2 separate regions of the Homo sapiens genome follow, and region 2 is linked to region 1. Evidence: promoter capture Hi-C in 16 types of primary human blood cells and fetal thymus (Javierre and others, 2016). All regions are on one chromosome and are shown on one strand. Each heading gives the region's core, a stretch centred on a gene start or on the middle of the fragment in contact. The rest is flanking DNA. Distances are from core to core; before and after follow the strand shown.

Evidence for each region. The method cuts DNA at HindIII sites, captures the fragments that hold promoters and counts their contacts. A CHiCAGO score of 5 or more calls a contact.
Region 2: a fragment that was not itself captured here is called in contact with the fragment with the promoter of YY1 in region 1 in 1 of 17 cell types (total B cells); the score reaches 6.0 in total B cells.

Annotation. Positions count from the first base shown.
Region 1 is chr14:100,237,006-100,240,457 of GRCh38, forward strand. YY1 (YY1 transcription factor) reads left to right here and starts at 2,139. Exons shown (of 5, transcript NM_003403.5): 1 at 2,139-2,918. The coding sequence starts at 2,240. YY1-DT (YY1 divergent transcript) reads right to left here and starts at 1,616. Exons shown (of 2, transcript NR_189150.1): 1 at 1,466-1,616. RefSeq lists enhancers at 1,201-2,053, 2,891-3,050 and silencers at 1,291-1,890, 1,951-2,030, 2,181-2,250, 2,741-2,790, 3,061-3,452. The HindIII fragment of the contact is 3,842 bases long and covers 1-3,452 here.
Region 2 is chr14:102,313,722-102,317,165 of GRCh38, forward strand. TRI-AAT5-4 (tRNA-Ile (anticodon AAT) 5-4) reads left to right here and starts at 3,371; the gene lies at 3,371-3,444. RefSeq lists enhancers at 462-962, 856-935, 3,061-3,160. The HindIII fragment of the contact is 3,036 bases long and covers 1-2,996 here.

The DNA of each region.
Region 1 (3,452 bases), core at 889-3,388:
CAGCTCAGAAACCAGGATGCTTAATGGGTAATTCCCTCATTTCTCTTGCTCTCACAATTGGTGTTTATGGGGAAGTATCAACTACTTGCAGTGCCATTTCCCCATCAATTACTAGAGAGTGGGGAAAGTGAAATTTAAAAAGCATTAAGACATGTAAAAGTTCTCCCACAACTGGTTTCCATTCATGAAATATTTATGCAGAGTTTATAAGCTATAAAGCCAGAGATGACTTAATTCAACAGATTTGACTTTTCCAAACTGAGTGGGTGCAGTACTCCAAGGGGAATTATTCAGGTTTCAAAGCTCAGATTCAAAGAGAAAACGATCTAATTTGTCACTCCTTACACTAATATTCTCAAAAGTCAAGTCCAATGCGATTTAGCAATAAGAAGGGACTAGGATTTATAAAGTTGCCTTTTAATGAGAATGTATAGTCTACTTGTTTTAACAAGTTGAGCCTAAGATTAATGTATTGCGTACAGTTCAGAAAATCATGGGCCTCAACTGCATGAACACTATTACAAAACAGTAAATGTTGATAATATTTAAGTTGAACAAATTCACAGAGGCGTTAAATCGGCCAAACGAGTACAACAAAGACACACCTTTCCAACTCTTCAATTTGTCATAGTTTCCTTAAAAATCAGGAAATCTTTGTTTTGCTTTAAGGCAAATTGTCAGGTCGACCAAAAGGACAGATAAGAGCAGAAACACTTCGCTGCAATGTAACTCATTCAGGAAGGTTTAACTTGCCGCTAATCCGTGCCACAAAAAAAAATCTAGGCTCTGTTGCAGGTACAATGGAGGACACGGCTGAAAAAATTTGGAATTTTAAATGAGACAAATGCAAAACCTGGTGGGCGTAAAAAGGAGCACCTATGAAAGTGACAAATAGGGGGAAAGGGTGGGCAAGGGAAACAATGGCTGACTGGAGAGCAAAGAAGGGGAAGCTCAGGAGAAAATTTTAGAAAGCCGCCAGGACCCTGTAGTTCTAAGATCTACGGGGAAACAGGCACCCAACGGCTGCGTCTCAGGTTTCCGCGGGTCACTAAAGAATAACGGACATCCTCCCAACGGTGGCCCTGGGGCTCCGCGGGCGCTTCCGCCGAGCTCGCGCCGACCCCGCGCTCGGCCCCGCACCCCGCCGGGCGCTCGCGGCGAGATACCGGACGCTGCCCGCGTCGCCCGATTTTGTCCGTTCGGTCCTCCACACTCACCCCGCGGCCATCGCTCGCCCGAAGCCAGGCGACAAGAACAAACACCTCCCGACGCGAAAAAGGAAGCACAGGCGATTCTCGTCAAAGCAGACTTTATTGGGGCGACAGGGCCGCCCCGCACGCGCCAGCCGCTCCCCGCGCGGCCCCCGGGCCGCCCACCCGCCTCAACCCCGCTCCCGGCCGGCCCCTCCCTCCCTTCTCCTCAGGCTCCCGCCCCCGTGGTGCCCGGGGCCGCGCGGACCGCTCACCGGCTCCCAAGGCAGCGGCTGTAGCGGCGACGCCCCGTTCCCGAGTGCGGCCCCGGCCCGAGGCGGCGGGTTTTGTGGCTGTTGCACCGCGAAGGGCGGCAGCCGCGCGACACCGGGAAGCGGGAGGCGGTGGCGGCGGCGGCGGCGCGCTGACGTCACGCGCCGCGGGCCAGCCAGGGCGCGTGCGAGCCGCCCCGCCCCCGGTCCCATCGGCCCCAATCCGGGAGGAGCCCGGCGAGTGGGCGGGGCCGCGGAGGCCAGCGGACAGATCGATTGGCCGAGAGGAGAATCGAGAGGGCGAACGGGCGAGTGGCAGCGAGGCGGGGCGGGCTGAGGCCAGCGCGGAAGTCTCGCGAGGCCGGGCCCGAGCAGAGTGTGGCGGCGGCGGCGAGATCTGGGCTCGGGTTGAGGAGTTGGTATTTGTGTGGAAGGAGGCGGAGGCGCAGGAGGAAGGGGGAAGCGGAGCGCCGGCCCGGAGGGCGGGAGGAGGCGCGGCCAGGGCGGGCGGTTGCGGCGAGGCGAGGCGAGGCGGGGAGCCGAGACGAGCAGCGGCCGAGCGAGCGCGGGCGCGGGCGCACCGAGGCGAGGGAGGCGGGGAAGCCCCGCCGCCGCCGCGGCGCCCGCCCCTTCCCCCGCCGCCCGCCCCCTCTCCCCCCGCCCGCTCGCCGCCTTCCTCCCTCTGCCTTCCTTCCCCACGGCCGGCCGCCTCCTCGCCCGCCCGCCCGCAGCCGAGGAGCCGAGGCCGCCGCGGCCGTGGCGGCGGAGCCCTCAGCCATGGCCTCGGGCGACACCCTCTACATCGCCACGGACGGCTCGGAGATGCCGGCCGAGATCGTGGAGCTGCACGAGATCGAGGTGGAGACCATCCCGGTGGAGACCATCGAGACCACAGTGGTGGGCGAGGAGGAGGAGGAGGACGACGACGACGAGGACGGCGGCGGTGGCGACCACGGCGGCGGGGGCGGCCACGGGCACGCCGGCCACCACCACCACCACCATCACCACCACCACCACCCGCCCATGATCGCTCTGCAGCCGCTGGTCACCGACGACCCGACCCAGGTGCACCACCACCAGGAGGTGATCCTGGTGCAGACGCGCGAGGAGGTGGTGGGCGGCGACGACTCGGACGGGCTGCGCGCCGAGGACGGCTTCGAGGATCAGATTCTCATCCCGGTGCCCGCGCCGGCCGGCGGCGACGACGACTACATTGAACAAACGCTGGTCACCGTGGCGGCGGCCGGCAAGAGCGGCGGCGGCGGCTCGTCGTCGTCGGGAGGCGGCCGCGTCAAGAAGGGCGGCGGCAAGAAGAGCGGCAAGAAGAGTTACCTCAGCGGCGGGGCCGGCGCGGCGGGCGGCGGCGGCGCCGACCCGGGCAACAAGAAGTGGGAGCAGAAGCAGGTGCAGATCAAGACCCTGGAGGGCGAGTTCTCGGTCACCATGTGGTCCTCAGGTGAGCGCCGGCCGCGCGCCCCGGCCCCGGGATGTTTTTGTTTTGAAGGGAAGCCATGTTTTATGTGTGTGATGGGCGCCGCCATCTTCTTCGCCAGGGCAAGTATGGCGGCCCCAAAAGATGGCGGGCCGTGCGGCGGCGGGGGCGCGGCGGCGGCGGCGGGCGGCGGGCCGCGAAGATGGCGGCAGGCCGCGGGGGGGAGGGGCCGGCGCCGCCCGGCTAGGCCGCAATGGCGTAGTTTCTCCGAGAGGGGGAAGCGCCGCGCGGGGCGGAGACGGCCGGGGGAGGGGCCGGCGCGCTCGCTCCCCGACGCCCTCGCTCCCCGCGCCCGCATCAACGGGCGCGCCCGCCGGCCCGTTGTGGCGGCAGCTGCGCGCCCCCGGCCCGGGCGGGACGCGGGAGGTCGTTGGCGGGGCTGCGCCGCGGCCTCGCGGGCCAGGGATTGCTGCCTCCGGGACGCGCGCCCCCGCCCCCGCCCGGCGCTGCCGTTACCCCATCGGCCGCTGGAGGGCGCCGCGGGCGCTTGCCCCGCCC
Region 2 (3,444 bases), core at 229-2,728, 2.1 Mb after region 1:
CCACCAGAAGCCAGGAGACAGCCTGGGGCGGTCTCCGTGGGAGCCTCCGAAGGAAGCGACCTTCCCGACACCCTGACTTTGGACGTCTGCCTACTAGAACTGTGAGGCCATATATTCTGTTGTGTGGCCACCTACCTTATAATACTCTGCTGTGGCCGACCTGGGAAACTAACACAGCGGGTCGTTACTGTCAGACCAAAGGTTCCAACTTATAAACAGAATGAAACATTTCGTAAGTTGAGTTTAAAGAAAATGGATTATTTAAAATGCACATGGGCCCCCCGCCCCACATTAAAAAAACAAAAAACAAATACAAGGCGGAGGTTGCAGTGAGCCGAAATCGCGCCACTGCGCTCCAGTCTGGGCGACAAGAGCGAGACTCCGTCTCAAAAACAAAAACAAAAGCAAGAAAACAAGCCCGAATGGTATTCTCTACCACTTAATTCTGAAAGTATGTAGATTCGTGTTTTCGTCACTCAGAGAATGAAAATTAGCGTTTGTTTGTCTAAGAGCTCTAAGACGGGGTGAGAAGTGGAGGAAGAGGTCCAGAGGAGGAAAGAAAACTGCTCGCCCGCGCCCGCCCTGCAGCTGCACGTGGGTCGCCCTAAGCCTGGGTTCGGAGCTGATGGCGCAGGTCCCAGGTGCCCTCTAGCGGCTGACGTCAGTCACGGCGCCCCGGCCCCGGCGCGCCCCGTCCACTCTGCCCACTCGGGACGCGTGGCTTGAAGTCCCGGGAATGCCACGGTTGCACCCACAAGGGTCGATCAACTCGGCTTCCTTCAGGAGACCTGGACTGACCACCCGCTGTGTGCCAAGCACTGTTTAGGTGCTGGTAAAATAGAGCCCACTGCTCCTGGAGTTCGCTCTAGCGGTGGGAGGCCGACGATTAGCAGCGGGAATAAGCGATGGAGGGGGGTCGGGCCGGGAACCGCAGGGATCCTGGGTGCGGGTTGCGATTGCAAATGGGGGCATCGGGTAAACCTCGCTGAGTAAGTGACATTTAAGCAGCGACCACGACGAGGAGGAGGAGCTTTGACATTGTCTGCAGGAAAAGTGGTCCAGGAAGAGGAACAGAAGCGCAAAAGCCCCAGCACAGGAGCAAGGGCCAGGGAGGAGGCGGAGGGGCTGCCGCGGAGGGAGCCGGGCAGGGGTGCAGGAGGGCAGAGGGGAAAGGCGCAGGTCCGGTGGTGTCTTTCAACGGGATGTTACCCTGGGCGTAGGGTTGTCAGATACAGCACATGTATTCTTTTAGTATAAGTATGTCCCAAATATGGCGTGGGACATACTTACACTAAAAAAAGTTTCATTGTCCTTTTGCAATTCAATTTTAACCCGGCATCTTGATCTATATTTGCTAAATTTGGCAGGCCTGTTAGGGCTGCAACAAAAGGAGAGAGTGTGAGCAGAGAAATGACTTGATCTGACTGTTTTAAACCCATGTGACTCTTACCTATTGCTATGCCAGAGAGTGTGCTAGGTTCTGGGCATTCATTCAGCTGTAAGCAAAATGGACAGGATGCCTGCACCCCCACCAGTGCTCTGTGAGAGGGCTTTACCCCTTTGGCCTGCTCATCTATCCTTGTCCTTTGGACACAGTAAAGTGCTCCAGACTTCAGGACGCTTGCCCAGCCTCCCAGCACACCACCTAATCTTCTCCGTTCCCTATAATATCCGCCTTCCTTGTTATGCGGAGAGCTCCATCAGGATGGGGATTAGGTTTCTTTGACTCACAGCTGATTGGGGGCCAGGGCACTGCCGGGCTGAATGAGTATGTCTTCACTGAGTGTCCGTTTTTCTAAACCTGGTCCTCTAGCCTTACTCGTGGAGGGTGACCTACCTAACATCCTTTACATAAAATCTTTTCGAATCAGCTAGACTCGGTTTCTGCTGCTTGTGACATAGAACCCTGACGATACCTCAGTCCAAGCAGTTTAGTGGAGTAATCAGAGCAGAATGTATAATGTTAAAAAGCTGGCCCGATGCGGTGGCTCACGCCTGTAATCCTAGCACTCTGGGAGGCCGAGGCAGGCGGATCACTTGAGGTCAGGAGCTCGAGACCAGCCTGGCCAACATGGTGAAACCCCATCTCTACTAAAAATACACACACACACACACACACACACACACACACACACACACACACACAAAGTAACCGGACAAGGCGCGTGCCTGTAGTCCCAGCTACTTGGGAGGCTGAGGCAGGAGAATCGCTTGAACCCAGGAAGCAGAGGTTGCAGTGAGCTGAGATTGCACCACTGGACTCCAGCCTGGGTGACAGAGCGAGACTCTGTCTCAAAAAAAAAAAAGCTGGTGCTCCTGGAGTGGGAGGGCCACGCAGCACACCATAGTCAGGCCCTGTAGGAGAACAGTAGGCCTCTGGGACATGCAGGCTGGGTGGTGGACACGGTGGTGGTTTGTCTTCCCAGCCTTTTCTTTCTCTCTCTCTTTTTTTGCATACAGATCCTACGCTTTTAGGGGTGGGTACCATCGTTGCCTACTCAGTGGCTGTTTCAACCCTTCTGCCTGTACCATGTGATTTATTTATGTGCTCAGTTAACAAGAGAGAGAGCAAAATGAAAACATTTTTACAGACACTAAAAAAAAAAAAAAAAAAAAAAGGAGAAAGCCATGGTGGTTTGTCCACTCAATGAAACACTGAGAAATCATTTAAAGTGACATTTGCAATTGTTTAGGGATATGCTTATTCTAGAATATTAAATGCAAAAAGAAAGATAAAAAATAGACTGCTTCATTGAGCCGAAATCTCGCCACTGCACTCCAGCCTGGGCGACAGAGGGAGATTCCGTCTCAAAAAAAAGACTGCTTCATACAAGGCTTTGGATTCCGTGTGTGTGTGTGTGTGTGTGTGTGTGTATAAATACACGTGTACTGTAGGAAAAAAAACCAGCAGGAAGGAAGCCAAGACCCCAGCGGCCCTTGTTTATTGGGCGATAGGGAATTCGGTGGTTCTTTTGTCCGGTTTTCTGTATTTTCCAAGCTTGATTTAACCATGCTAAAGGCCTCTGTTACACGAAGTTTCCACGCTGCAGGATTCTCGGAGATAAAAACAACACTGAGTTGGCATGTTTGAAAACCTTCTCACTGCGGAGCTAAGCCTCCCATGTGCAATTTGCATTTTTCCTGTGAAAAAAAGCCGCCTTCGCTGTAGGGAGTCGCCTCCCTTCTCCTTGAAGTCCCCTAAGTCTTAGTTTCTGCATCGGGCCAATGGGGATGACTGTGAAGAGGTCGGAAGTCGCGGCTGTGGCGAAGCGGAATGCAGCCAGCGGCGCCGGCCCGGCAGGGAGTCGCTAGGGGGCGGGCGCGGGCTTGGAGCCCTCTTAGGCGCTCCCGTGGGGGCCCAACGTCAGGCGGCCGGTTAGCTCAGTTGGTTAGAGCGTGGTGCTAATAACGCCAAGGTCGCGGGTTCGATCCCCGTACGGGCCA